Regions from separate parts of the Homo sapiens genome. Here all the other regions are linked to region 3. Evidence: promoter capture Hi-C in 16 types of primary human blood cells and fetal thymus (Javierre and others, 2016). All regions are on one chromosome and are shown on one strand. The core of a region is centred on a gene start or on the middle of the fragment in contact, and the rest is flanking DNA. Distances in the headings are between cores, read along the strand shown.

Evidence for each region. The method cuts DNA at HindIII sites, captures the fragments that hold promoters and counts their contacts. A CHiCAGO score of 5 or more calls a contact.
Region 1: a fragment that was not itself captured here is called in contact with the fragment with the promoter of BRSK1 in region 3 in 15 of 17 cell types (erythroblasts, endothelial precursors, M1 macrophages and 12 more); the score reaches 12.1 in erythroblasts.
Region 2: a contact is called between a fragment that was not itself captured here and the fragment with the promoter of BRSK1 in region 3, in 13 of 17 cell types (erythroblasts, megakaryocytes, M0 macrophages and 10 more). The highest score is 15.8, in erythroblasts.
Region 4: a fragment that was not itself captured here is called in contact with the fragment with the promoter of BRSK1 in region 3 in 9 of 17 cell types (erythroblasts, megakaryocytes, M1 macrophages and 6 more); the score reaches 9.1 in erythroblasts.
Region 5: a fragment that was not itself captured here is called in contact with the fragment with the promoter of BRSK1 in region 3 in 7 of 17 cell types (megakaryocytes, total CD8 T cells, erythroblasts and 4 more); the score reaches 8.4 in megakaryocytes.

What each region holds. Positions count from the first base shown.
Region 1 is chr19:55,169,628-55,172,327 of GRCh38, reverse strand. It overlaps SYT5 (synaptotagmin 5), which reads left to right. Exons shown (of 9, transcript NM_003180.3): 9 at 1-1,132. Among named protein-coding and RNA genes, the nearest start is that of DNAAF3, 4.4 kb to the right of the region's middle. The HindIII fragment of the contact is 869 bases long and covers 873-1,741 here.
Region 2 is chr19:55,392,810-55,395,509 of GRCh38, reverse strand. It overlaps a transcript of RPL28 not described here. Among named protein-coding and RNA genes, the nearest start is that of MIR6805, 6.0 kb to the right of the region's middle. The HindIII fragment of the contact is 1,380 bases long and covers 627-2,006 here.
Region 3 is chr19:55,282,576-55,285,275 of GRCh38, reverse strand. It overlaps BRSK1 (BR serine/threonine kinase 1), which reads right to left and starts at 1,279. Exons shown (of 19, transcript NM_032430.2): 1 at 698-1,279. The coding sequence starts at 833. The HindIII fragment of the contact is 8,428 bases long and covers 1-1,985 here.
Region 4 is chr19:55,355,876-55,358,575 of GRCh38, reverse strand. It overlaps GARIN5B (golgi associated RAB2 interactor family member 5B), which reads left to right. Exons shown (of 11, transcript NM_001145402.2): 9 at 1-431. Among named protein-coding and RNA genes, the nearest start is that of COX6B2, 2.5 kb to the right of the region's middle. The HindIII fragment of the contact is 3,297 bases long and covers 1-2,700 here.
Region 5 is chr19:55,190,755-55,193,454 of GRCh38, reverse strand. PTPRH (protein tyrosine phosphatase receptor type H) reads left to right here. Exons shown (of 20, transcript NM_002842.5): 11 at 1,714-1,792; 12 at 1,907-1,954. Among named protein-coding and RNA genes, the nearest start is that of SYT5, 12 kb to the right of the region's middle. The HindIII fragment of the contact is 4,918 bases long and covers 1-2,700 here.

The sequences.
Region 1 (2,700 bases), core at 58-2,557, 110 kb after region 3:
TGCCTCAGCCTCCCGAGCAGCTGGGACTACAGGCGCCCGCCACCACACCCGGCTAATTTTTTTGTATTTTTAGTAGAGACGGCATTTCACCGTGTTAGCCAGGATGATCTCGATCTCCTGACCTCGTGATCCGCCCGCCTCGGCCTCCCAATGTGCTAGGATTACAGGCGTGAGCCACCGCGCCCGGCCCTTCTTCTTTTCTTTTCTTTTCTATTTCTTTTCTTCTCTTCTTCTTTTTTTTAATTTTGAGACGGAGTTTCGCTGTTGTTGCCCAGAATGGAGGGCAATGGTGCAATCTCGGCTCACCGCAACCCCTGCCTCCCGGGTTCAAGCGATTCTTCTGCCTCAGCCTCTTCTTTCTTCTTTTTTTGACAGGGTTTCTCTGTGTACCCTGGCTGGAGTGCGGTGGGGCAATCATAGCTCACTGCAGCCTCAACCTCCTGGGCTCAGGGGATCCTCCTGCCTCAGACTCCTGAGTAGCTGGGACCACAGGCACATGCAACCATGCCTAGCTAATTTTTTCTTTTCTTTTCTTTTCTTTTTTAGAGATGGGGTCTTGCTATGTTGCACAGGCTGGTTTCAAACTCCTGCAATCCTCCTGTGTGAGTAGCTGGGACTGTAGACATGAGCCGCCGCATCTGACCTCATTGTTCTTTCAACGAATGCTGCCTCCTACTCTGTTTCTAGCAAAGATGATAGTTCCATTGGCTTCTACCTTATCTCATCCCATACAGAATTTTGGGTGGTGAACAAAGACCTATAAGATTTGGCCAGAGAACTCTCTGAGCAGCAGATTAAGTGGAGAATGAGGCAAAAATTACCCCCACGTACCAAAAAAGGAGGCAGCAAACAAACTTACTTGCTCCTAAGCTTCCTGGTAGCCAATCGGGAAAGTGAAAATAGAACAGCTACACAGATTATAATATCCATGAGATTTTTAATTTTTCTCCAAAGGAATTCAGTAACTTTTCATGTGTGTGAGTGTGTGTGTGTGTGTGTGTGTGTGTGTGTGTGTGTGTGTGGCTGTAGAGCATGTCTTTATGAAGACAGCCCTTTATGTTACTACTATTACTGCCAATAATAATCCTCACAGCAAACTCATGAAATAAACATGATCATTATTCCCAGTTGACAAATGAGTCCAAACTGTGCTTTAGAAAATTTGGGGCTGGGCGTAGTGGCTCACGCCTGTAATCCCAGCACTTTGGGAGGCTGAGGTGGGCGGATCACCTATGGTCAGGAATTCAAGACCAGCTGGGCCAACATGCTGAAACCCTGTCTCTACTAAAAATACAAAAATTAACTGGGTGTCGTGGCAAGCACCTGTAATCCCAGCTACTAGGGAGGCTGAGGCAGGAGACTCGCTTGAACCCAGGAGGTGGAGGTTGCAGTGAGTCGAGATCGCGCCATTGCACTCCAGCCTGGACAACAAGAGCAAAACTCCATCTAAAAAAAGAGAGAGAGAGAGAGAGAGAGAATTCCTGTGAAATGCTCAGAATCACACAGCCAGAGAGCCTGTCTCTAAATCCTGGGATTGATTTAGATGATGGCAATGGGGTCCTTGGGTCTCTGTCTCAACAAGAAAGCAGAGCGATAGAAGAATAAAACCATTACAAATGGCCGTCCACACTGGGACCAAAACGTAAAAAGGCTGACATAACTTAGGGAGGGTGGTCAGGGGCAGCCTTGCTGAGGAGGTGCGGTCTGGGCCATGACTTGAATGACAAGAAGGAACGAAGCTTGCAAAGGTTAGGGAGAACAACAGTGGAATATTATTTGGTCATAAAAACAGAAGAAAGCATTGATTCATGCTTCAGCATAGATGAGTCCTGAAAATATTATGCCAAGTGAAGGAAGCCGGATACAGAAGGCTGCATAGTGCAGTATTCCATCCAAAAGAAATCTCCTGCACTGACAAATACATAGAGACAGAAAGTAGATTCGTGGTTGCCAGGGACAGAGGAGAGAGAAATGGGGAGATAAATGGGGTACGTGTTTTCTTTTGGAGTGATGAGAAAGTTCTGGAATTAGACAGTGGTGATGGTTGCACAGCATTGCAAGTGTACTAAATGTCATTCCCAATCAACTTAATAGTGTGTGTGTTTTACACCAATTTAAAAAGAAAACAAGGCCAAGCACGATGGCTCATGCCTTAATCCTAGCACTTTGGGAGGCAGGAGGATTGCTTGGGGCCCAGGGTTAGACACCAGCCTGGATAACCTCTCTATTTTTAAAATTTGTAAAGTTAGCTAGGTATGCTGGCACGTGGCTATAGTTCTAGCTACTTGGGGAGCAGAGGTGGGAGGATCGATTGAGCCCAGGAGTTTCAGGCTGGAGTACTCCAGCCTAGGCAACAGAGCAAGTCCCTGCCTTAAATAAATAAATAAATAAATACAGCCGGGCGCAGTGGCTCACGCCTGTAATCTCAGAATTTTGGGAGGCCAAGGCCGGCGGATCACTTGAGGTCGGGAGTTTGAGACCAGCCTGACCAACACGGAGAAACCCTGTCTCTACTAAAAATACAAAATTAGCTGGGCGTGATGGCACATGCCTGTAGTCCCAGCTACTCAGGAGGCTGAGGCAGGAGAATGGCTTGAACCCGGCAGGTGGACGTTGCAGTGAGCCGAGATAGCGCCATTGCACTCCAACCTGGGCAACAAGAGTGAAACTCCATCTCAAATAAGTAAATAAATAACAGCC
Region 2 (2,700 bases), core at 67-2,566, 110 kb before region 3:
ATGGCGCCACTGCACTCCAGACTGGGGGAGAGTGCAAGAGACTCTGTCTCAAAAAAAAAAAAAAAAGAGAAAAAGAAGGCCAGGCACAGTGGCTCACGCCTGTAATTCCAGCACTTTGGGAGGCCAAGATGGGTGGATCTCTTGAGGTCAGTTCAAGACCAGCCTGGCCAACATGGTGAAACCCTGTTTCTACTTAAAATACAAAATTAGCTGGGCATGGTGGCGCATGCCTGTAATCCCAGCTACTTGGGAGGCTGAGGCAGAAGAATCGCTTGAACCCAGGTGGTAGAGGTTGTAGTGAGCCGAGATCGCACCACTGTACTCCAGCCTGGGCGACAAGAGTGAAACTCTGTCTCAAAAAAATAAATAAATAAATAAATAAGAAAAGGAAAAAAAAGAAAGGCTAATATTCATCACATGGTATTCCAACTCTCCTTCCTTGAGACAAATGTTTGCATATTGTGACTATCCAGAGGCATTCGATGCATATACAAGCAAATACACATGCATCTTATTGTTTAAATATTTAAAAATATTTAACAGGAATGTTGGCATATCATTTACACTATTTGCAGGTTGCTTTTTTTCACTTAATATATTTTAGAGATTGGCCCAAAACATAAGCTTTTTCATGTTTTAAAAATTCTGGGTGGGGCCAGGCACAGTGGCTCACGCCTATAATCCCAGCACTTTGGGAGGATTGAGCCCAGGAGTTCAAGACCAGCCTGGACAACATAGTGAGATCGTGTCTCTACAAAACAATTTTAAAAATTAGCTGGGTGTGGCAGCACACACCTGTGGTCCCAGCCTCTCTGGAGACTGAGGTGGGAGGACTGTTTCAGCCCAGGAGTTCAAGGCTACAGAGAGCCTTGATCTTGCCACAGCACTCCAGCCTGGAAAACAGAGTGAGATTCTTTTTAAAAATATATATAAATAAATAGAAATTCTGGGCTAGGTGCAGTGGCTCACACCTGTAATCCCAGCACTTTTAGAGGCCAAGGCAGGAGGATCACTTGAGGTCAGGAATTCAAGCCCAACCTGGGTAACACAGTGAGACCTTGTCTCTACAAAAATATTTAAAACTTAGCTGGGTGTGGTGGAGCACACCGGTGGTGCCAGCTACTTCGGAGACTGAGGTGGGAGGATTGTTTGAGCCCAGGAGTTCAAGGCTGCAGTGAGCCGAGATTGTGCCACAGCACTCCAGCCTGAGCAACAGACCTTTATCTTTTTGTTTGTTTGTTTGTTTTTGAGACGGAGTCTCGCTCTGTCACACAGGCTGGAGTGCAGTGGCGTGATCTTGGCTCACTGCTACCTCCGCCTCCTGGATTCAAGCGATTCTCCTGCCTCAGCCTGCCAAGTAGCTGGGACTACAGGCGCACACCACCACATCTGGCCAGTTTTTAGTATTTTTAGTATAGATAGGGTTTCACTGTGTTAGCCTGGATGGTCTTGATCTCCTGACCTTGTGATCCGCCTGCCTGGGCCTCCCAAAGTGCTGGGATTACAGGAGTGAGCCACCGTACCCAGCTGAGACCCTGTCCCTTTAAAAAAAAGACTTGTAGCTGGGTGCAGTGGCTCACACCTGTAATCCCAGCACTTTGGGAGGCCAACACAGGCAGATCACCTGAGGTCAGGAGTTCGAGACCAGCCTGGCCAACATGGTGACACCCCCGTCTCTACTAAAAATACAAAAATTAGCCAGGCGTGGTGGCGGGCCCCTGTAATCCCAGCTACTTGAGGGGCTGAGGCAGGAGAATCGCTTGAACCCAGGAGGTGGAGGTTGCAGTGAGCTGAGGTCGCAGTGAGCCAAGGTCATGCCATTGCACTCCAGCCAGGGCGACAGAGCAAGACTCCATCTCAAAAAAAAAAAAAAAAAAACAAATTGGTGATTGGCAGGGCAGGGGCTAGAGGGGACATGAGTGGGAGTGGCTGCTTCATGGATACTGGGTGTCCATTCAGGATGATGAAATGTTCTGGAATAAGATAGGGGTTGTGGTTGCAAAGCTTTGTGAAGACTAAAAATCACTGAATTGTGCACTCTAAAAGCGTGGACTTTATGTTACGTGAATTATACCTTTTTCTTTTTTTGGAGACAGTCTTCATCTGAGCCTAGGGACCAGCTAGGAGCTTCAGGGAGGAGAGAGGCCTCAGAGATTACAGCCTAAGGAGGCTGGGGAGACTGGACAGGGCCAGATCCCGGGCCTTGCTGGCCCTAGAGAAAGGTTTGGGCTTTTATTCCTCATGGGGGTCGGGGGGGGGGGGGGGTGCGTCGGCCAAGGGAGGATGACAGGTCTCATTTATCATTTGTAAAGATCAATTTGCTACTGTGTAGAGAACAGCCTGGAGGGACAGCAGGGGAGCGGGCGGGTGTGGGAGGCCGGTGGGAGCTGGGGCCGCTGGAGGTGTGATTCAGACATGCTAGGGATGGCTGGGCCTGGGGGAGGGCCAGGTGTTCAAGAGGAACAGAGGAGAGGGGTGCTGGGGAGCCTCTGGGGGATTAGCCATTGAGGGGTGTGTTTAAATGAGTGGCTTCATCAATGCAGCGCTGATGGCCATCGAAAGGGGCCCGCAGCCTGTGTGTGCTGATGGAGAGACAGCCCAGTGCATTAGGGAAAAGGAGCAAGGGGGAGGTTCCTGTTGCCATGATCCAATCTGTGTAAGACATTAAAAGATGAGGCTGGGGCCGGACGCGGTGGCTCA
Region 3 (2,700 bases), core at 30-2,529:
CAGGAGTCCAGGCCCCCAGCCCCTCCTCCTTCAGACCCAGGAGTTCAGCACCCCTGCCCCTCCTCCCTCAGACCCAGGAGTCCAGACCCCAGACCCTCTTCCTTCATACTCAGGAGTCCAGGCCCCCAGGCCCTCCTCCCTCAGACCTGAAAGTCCAGGACCGCAGTCCCTCCTCCCTCAAACCCAAAAGTCCAGGACCCCAGTCCCCTCCTCCCTCAGACCCAGAAGTCCAGACCCCCAGCCCCTCCTCCCTCAGACCCTGGAGTCCAGGCCCCCAAGCCCTTCTCCTTCAGACCCAGGAGTGCAGGCCACCAGCCTCTCCTCCCTCAGACTCCGGAGTCCAAGCACAGCCCCTCCTCCCTGAAACCCAGGAGTCCAGACCCCCAGGCCCTCCTCCCTGAAACCCAGGAGTCCAGGCCCCCAGGCCCTCCTCCCTCAGACCTAGGAGTCCAGTGCCCAGCCCCTCCTCCCTCAGACCCAGGAGTCCAGGCCCCCAGCCCCTCTCCTCCAGGACCTGAGTCTGCGCCCCCCACCCCCTCCATCCAGGGACCCAGGAGTCTGAATCCCAAGTCCCTTCTCTATGAGGGGCCCAGGGGTCTGGGCAGCCAGCCCCTGCCATTTGAATACCCTGAGTCCCGCCTCTGCCGCCACCTCCACCCTGCCCCCCGCCCCAGGTGTCCCCTTCTGCTAGGCTCACCTGTCTGTCCTTTGCCCAGCGTCTTCTCCAGCCGATAGGGGCCCACATATTGGGCGTGCTGGGGTGGGTGGGGGTGGGGGTGGGGGAGGTGGTAGGCGGGAGAGCCCCCACCTCCCTCCTTGGCCCCGGACGACATGGTGCCCTTGGTCCCGGCCCGACCGGTCCCCCGGCCGCCCCCCCTGCGGCCGTCGCCCCGTCTCTCCGGTGGGGGCCGGCGACCGCTCCGTCCCGGCCCCCCCGGCTGCCCCCCACCTCTCCGGGGGTCCCCAGGGGGCTGGGCTGGCCCCCCCCAGTCGGCGGGCCGCGGAGCTGGGGGAGGGGGGGCTGGCCCGGGGGGGTCAGGCCCCGGGAGTCAGCATGGCCCAGGGGGGCTGCGGGGCCCCCCCTCCCCAGCCCGTTTCTGGCCGGCCCCCCGCTTCCTGCGCCTCCCCCCGCCGGGGGGGTCTGAGGTGCGGGCCGGCGGATGCTGCAGGCCGAGGTCCCCCCCGCCCCCCCACGCGCCCTCTCTCCTCCGCCTCCTCCTCCTCTCCGCCTCCCCCCGCCACCTCGTCCTTTCTCTCCGGCACGCTGACATCACCATCCGGGGACTCCGGGCCCTTCCCCAAAGTTAACCCTTTCGGAGGGGGGAGGGGGAGCGAGGGGGGGCAGGGGGCGGGCCTCCAGCTGGAGGGATGGAGAGGAGGTGGGAGGATGCAGGAGAGAGGATGGAGGGAAGGATGGAGAGAGAGAGAGAGGACCCAACAGATGGGGCAGAGATGGAGATACACAAAGAGAGATGCTGGCTGACACAGAGACGGGAGACAGGCAGAGACGCCAGAGGGATGGAGACCACCAGAGACAGGCTGAGGCAGAGAGGGAGGAAGGGCAGAGATGGACAGGGACAGAAGAGAAGGAAGGAATGGCAAGCCGGGAAAACAGACAGGGAGAGGGAGAGAAAGCTGCTGGAAGCCGACAGAGGGATGGAGAGAGTCAGAGATTCAGAGAGACAGAGAGAGGAAGACCAACCAGAGAGGTGGGGGAGAGGGGGCGCAGATGGAGCTGTAGAGAGGGCCGGGGGTACACACAGGTGGAGGGACACGTGCTGGGGAGAGGTGGGGACATATGGAGGGAGACAGAGACAGAGAGGGGAAAGAATTCTTGGAGTTGCTGACCCAAAATTCATGTCTGTTTCCCCAGCCCCCTAAGGCCACCCATTCAGGGTAAGGGTAAGTCTGTGTCCCCACCAATGTCAAGGCCCCATATCTACCCACAGCCCAGAGTGATTTTGGATTCTCTTTACAGAGAAGCTTCCAGAACCCCCTCAGTTTCCCTGTGTTATGTTTTTAGACCCCCATATATTCTCTGTGCTCGTCATAGGGTCCTTTATATCTTCATGTGGACCCCAGTACAGCCCATACATCCCCACTGTAGCAGGTCCACAAGCATGTGCTCTGCCTGTGAGTAACCCGCCTGCCCCCATTAGCTTTCCGCATAAACCATAGATCCCTCTATGTCATGTACCCGCAAGTGTTAGACACCCATTTAATTCTCAAGTCCCCTGTAAAGCACACCCAGGGCTGGGCAAGGTGGCTCATGCCTGTAATCCCAATACTTTGGGAGACAGAGGTGGGAAGATCAGCCTGGGCAACACAGTGAGACCCCATCCCTACAAAAATTTTTTTAAAAATTAGCCGGGCATGGTGGCATGTGCCTGTAGTCCCAGCTACTTGGGAGGCTGAGGCTTGAGTCAGTGAGTTCTAGGCTGCAGTGAGCTACGTTTGCACCACTGCACTCCAGCCTGAGCAACAGAGTGAGGCCCTGTCTCTAACAAAAATAAAATAAAATAAAGTGCACACAGGAGCCTATTGGCTCCTGTGAGATTTCCCAGTCCCCCATTCAACACCTTGAGTCCACACATCTTTAATGAGTGCCAAATCTCAGCCAGGCACTGTTCCTGTTGGTAAGAACGTGGCAGTGACCTAAATCAGCAAAAAGGCCTGTCCTGTGGAGCTTCCATGCTGGTG
Region 4 (2,700 bases), core at 60-2,559, 73 kb before region 3:
GTGAAGGAGGGCAAGCGGCCATGGGGCGAGATGAAGGAGCAGCCATGGGGCGAGATGAAGGAGCCACCCTGGGACCCCAAGGGGCCACCCAAGGTGCCCTTTCGCTCCAAGCCCACCTCTGCCAGTCTGAAGAGGGAAGGAATCTCCCAGGCGCCTATCCCCCTGACCGCCTCACCGTGGGAGGACTTACGGCCATCGCCCCTCTCGGAGACCCTCATCTCAAAGATGGAGGCCACAGCCAGGGCGTCCCAGCAGCCCAAGAGGGTGTCGCAGGAGCCCATGAGGATGCCAGCCCAGCACCCCCTGGCCACTGTGGGGTCGTCTTCAGAAATTCTTTTGCCCATGCTCTTAGAACTTGAAACTGTGAGGAACACGGCCACCAAGGCAGAGGAGATACAGGAGGAATCGGGCGTCTTGAACCTTCTGCCCAGGTAGCGGGGGTTAGCAGCTATTATTTACTGTGAGCTCTGCTGTTTATGAGACAGAGATGATCACTCTTTCCTTTCACTTTTTTTTTTTTTTTTGACAGGGTCTCACTCTGTCACCCAGGCTGGAGTGCGGTGGTATGATCTTGGCTCACTGCAACCTCCGCCTCCTGGGTTCAAGCAATTCTCCTGCCTCAGCATCCTGAGTAGCTGGGATTACAGGCGTGTGCCACCACGCCCAGCTAATTTTTGTATTTTTAGTAGAGATGGGGTTTCACCATGTTGGCCAGGCTGGTCTTGAACTCCTGACCTCAAGTGATCCACCCGCCTCGGCCTCCCAAAGTGCTGGGATTACAGGCGTGAGCCACCACGCCTGGCCCCCTTTCACTCTGATATATAGTGAGTGCCGACTCTGTGCCAGGCATTGTTCTAGGCAGTGGGGATACAGTGTCCGACCATGGGGCTGGTGGTGGTGGGATGTGCTCCTGGCTTCTAGCAGGTAGAGACCAGGGATGCTGCTGAGCAACCTACAGTGCACAGGACAGCCCCCACCACAGCCCAGGTGCTCTAGGGAGCCCTCACGGAGCTGGGGTTGTTTGTGTCAAGACCTGGAGGAGAGGACGGAGGAAGCCATGAGGACATCTGGGGGGAAAGCATCCCAGCGGAAGGAACAGCCACTGCAGTCCCTGAGGCAGGAGTGTTTGTAATGTGCTGGACCACGGGGATCCCGGGGTGGGAAATGCGGTCAGAGGTGCAGCAGGGGGGCGCCCATCATGGAGGACTTTGCAGACAATTTTAGGGACTTTGGCTCTGACTCTGAGCGAGCTGGAGGGTTTGGAGCAGAAGAATGATGGAGACGGATTTATGTGTGAAGAGGCTGCCTCTGGCTGGGGCATGGAGGATGTAGGGGGGCAAGAGTGGGCACCTGGAGGACAGAAAAGGCCACAAAGACCCCATTTCCATGAAATGTCCATAACAGGCTGACCCGTAGAGACAGAAAGTGAATCGTTGGAGGCCAGGGGTCTAGTGTGGAGGAAGCGGGAGTGACTACTCATGGGTTGGAGGTCCTCTCCCCTCCCTTCCTCTTCTCTTTTCTGACGGAGTCTTGCTCTGTCGCCCAGGCTAGAGTGCAGTGGCGCGATCTCAGCTCACTGCAACCTCTGCCTCCTGGGTTCAAGCAATTCTCCTGTCAGCCTCTTGAGGAGCCGAGTAGCTGGGATTATAGGTGCTCACCACCACGCCCGGCTGATTTTTGTATTTTTAGTGGAGACGGAGTTTCACCATGTTGGCCAGGCTGGTCTCGAACTCCTGACCTCAGGTGATCTGCCCACCTCGGCCTCCCAAAAGTGTTGGGATTACAGACGTGAGCCACCGTGCCCAGCCAGGTTGGAGGTTTCTTTGTGGGTGATACAAATGCCCTGGAACTAGGTAGAGGTGGTTGCATGACATTGTGAATGTGCCGAATGCCACTTTAAGGGGTACATTAAAAAATGGTGACAAGTTTGGGCAAAAGAGTGAGACCTCATCTCTACAAAATGTGAAAACAAAAAAAGTTGGTGGTTCACACCTGTAATCCCAGCACTTTGGGAGGCCGAGGAGGGTGGATCACGAGGTCAGGATTTCAAGACCAGCCTGGCCAAGATGGTGAAACCCCATCTCTACTAAATATACAAAAATTAGCCGGGCATGGCGACGGGTTGCAGTGAGCTGAGATCGTGCCACTGCACTCCAGCCTGGGCAACAGAGCGAGACTCCGTCTCAAAAAAAAAAAAAGTTAACTAGGCATGGTGCCATGTGCCTGTGGTCCCAGCTACTCTGGAGGCTGAGATGTGAGGACTGGTTGAACTGGGAAGTCGAGGCTGCAGTGACCCACCATCGTGCCACTGCACTGCAGCCTGGGCAATAGAGTGACACCCTGTTTCTTTTCTTTTCTTTTTTTTTTTTAGAGATGGGGTTTCGCCATGTTGGCCAGGCTAGTCTCAAACTCCTGACCTCAGGTGATCCATCCGGCTTCCCAAAGTGCTGGGATTACAGGGGTGAGCTCTATTGCCAGGCTAGAGTGCAGCGGTGTGATCGTGGCTCATGGCAGCCTTTATCTTCCTGGGCTCAAGTGATCCTCCTGCCTCAGCCTCCAAAAGCCCAGCCAAGTTTTTGATTTTTTTGTAGAAAAGAGGTCTCACATGTTGCCCAGACTGAAGTGCAGTGATGCCATCACAGCTCACTGCAGCCTCAAGCTACCCAGGCTCAGGTGATTCTCCTGCCTCAGCCTCCTCAG
Region 5 (2,700 bases), core at 81-2,580, 92 kb after region 3:
GTTTTGTTTCGTTTTGTTCTTTTTTGAGACAGGGTCTCACTCTGTTGCCCAGGCTGGAGTGCAGTGATACGATCATGCCCACCACAGCCTCCACCTCCCAGGCTCAAGTGATCCTCCTGCCTCAGTCCCCTGAGTAGCTGGGACTACAGGCATGTACTACCATGCCCAGCTATTTTGTTGGGGTTCTTTTTGTTTTGTTTTGCTTTCTTTTTCTTTTTTTTTTTTTTGAGACAGAGTCTCACTCTATCACCCAGTCTGGAGTGCAGTCGTGCAATCTCAGCTCACTGCAGCCTCCACCTCCCGGGTTCAAGTGACTCTTATGCTCAGCCTCCTGAGTAGTTGGGATGACAGGTGTGCACCACCATACCCAGCTAACTTTTGTTTTTTTAGTAGAGACTGGGTTTTGTTATGTTGCCCAGGCTGGTCTCAAACTCCTGGGCTCAAGTGATCCACCCACCTCAGCCTCCCAAAGTGTTGGGATTACAGGGGTGAGCCACCATGCCTGGCCAGGAGTCACTCTTCAGCAACCAGGTCACCTGTGAAAATGATGGATAGTTGACCCTTGAACAATTGTCCCCTACACAGTAGAAAATCTGCATATAACAGCCGGGCATGGTGGCTCATGCCTATAATCCCAGCACTTTGGGAGGCTGAGGCAGGTGGATCACGAGGTCAGGAGATCAGGACCACCCTGGCTAACACGGTGAAACCCCAACTCTACTAAAAATACAAAAAATTAGCCAGGAGTGGTGGCGGGCACCGGTAGTCCCAGCTACTCAGGAGGCTGAGGCAGGAGAATGGCGTGAACCCGGGAGGCAGAGGTTGCAGTGAGCCGAGGTCGCACCACTGCACTGCAGCCTGGGTGACAGAGCAAGACTCTGTCTCAGAAAAAGAAAAAGAAAAAAAAATCTGCACATAACTTTTGACTCCCCCAAAACTTAACTACTAATAGCCTACTCTTGATTGGAAGCCTTACCAATAACATAAACAACATACATTTCATCTGTAATATGTACTACATACTGTATTCTTTTTGTTTGTTTGTTTGTTTTTGAGACAGAGTCTTGCTCTGTTACCCAGGCTGGAGTGCAGTAGTGTGATCTGGGCTCACTGCAAGCTCCACCTCCCGGGTTCACGCCATTCTCCTGCCTCAGCCTCCCGAGTAGCTGGGACTACAGGCGCCCACCACCACGCCCTGCTAATTTTTTGTATTTTTAGTGGAGATGGGGTTTCACCGTGTTAACCAGGATGGTCTCGATCTCCTGACCTCGTGATGTGCCCATCTCCGCCTCCCAAAGTGCTGGGATTACAGGCGTAAGCCACCGCGCCCGGCCGTACTATATGCTGTATTCTTATAATCAAGTAGCTAAAGAAAAAAATGTTACTAAGAATATCCTAAGGAAGAGAAAATGTACTCGCTATTTATTAAGTAGATCATCATAAAGGTCTTCCTCCTTGTAGTCTTCGCGTTGAGTAGGCGGAGGAGGAGGAGGAGGTAGGAGAGGGGCTGGTCTTGCTGTCTCAGGGGTGGAGGAAAATCCATGGGTAAGCGCGTAAGTATAACTGGACCGACGCAATTCACACCGTGTGATGTTCGGGGGTCAGCTGTCTTTGGACCAGGCTCCTGGGGAAGAGGAAAGGCTGGGCAGGGTTGGAGACAGATGAGCAGCTCAGACCTGCGCTCTGAGGGTTCCCGATGCCTCCTCCCCACAGGGGTCATTGCCGGAGCCTTTGTGGGCATCCTCCTGTTTCTCATCCTCGTGGGCCTGCTGATTTTCTTCCTGAAGAGGAGGTGAGACTCAGCACAGGGCTGACCGCCTGGAGGGTGGGGGCTGGAGAAGAAGGAGGAGGACCGCTGGTTGCAGCCTCACCCCCTGAGCCTCTCATCCTAACGTCCTTTTCCCAGGAATAAGAAGAAGCAGCAGAAACCAGAACTCAGGGATCTGGTCTTTAGGTGAGCAGAAGGTCTGGGGGGTGCATTGGAAAGAATCTGGTCAAATCAAGGGGTGTTTGCTGGCTGCCAGCTAGGTCAGAGGGTGGATCAATGCATTTACCCACAAAGGTCTCAGAAGGGGCCCATGCCTCTGCGACAGGGACCACGGCCCTTCCATCGTGACTCACTCCCCAAGCAGCCTGGGCCAGCGAATTCAGTTCTGGTCTCAACTCCCGGACATTCATTCATTCAGCAGATATCAGCTGAGCACCAGCATGTATCAGGCACTGTTCCAGGTGCCAAACAAACAGCAAATGAAACCAAGATTCTTGCCCGCCAGGGGCTTATATTCTAGTACAGGAGATATCAATAAACAAGATTGCTGGGTGCGGTGGCTCATGCCTGTAATCCCAGCACTTTGGGAAGCTGAGGCAGGCAGACCACAAGGTCAGGAGATCAAGACCATCCTGGCTAACGTGGTGAAACCCTGTCTCCACTAAAAAATACAAAAAATTAGCCAGGCTTGGTGGCGGGCACCTATAGTCCCAGCTACTTGGGAGGCTGAGGCAGGAGAATGGCGTGAACCTGGGAGGTAGAGCTTGCAGTGAGTTGAGATCACGCCACTGCACTGCAGCCTGGGTGACAGATCGAGACTCCGTCTCAAAAAAATAATAGTAATAAAAAATTAAAAAAGATCATAAAAAATATGATATAAACTTTCAGACAGGGCCAGGCATGGTGGCTCACGCCTGTAATCCCAGCTACGC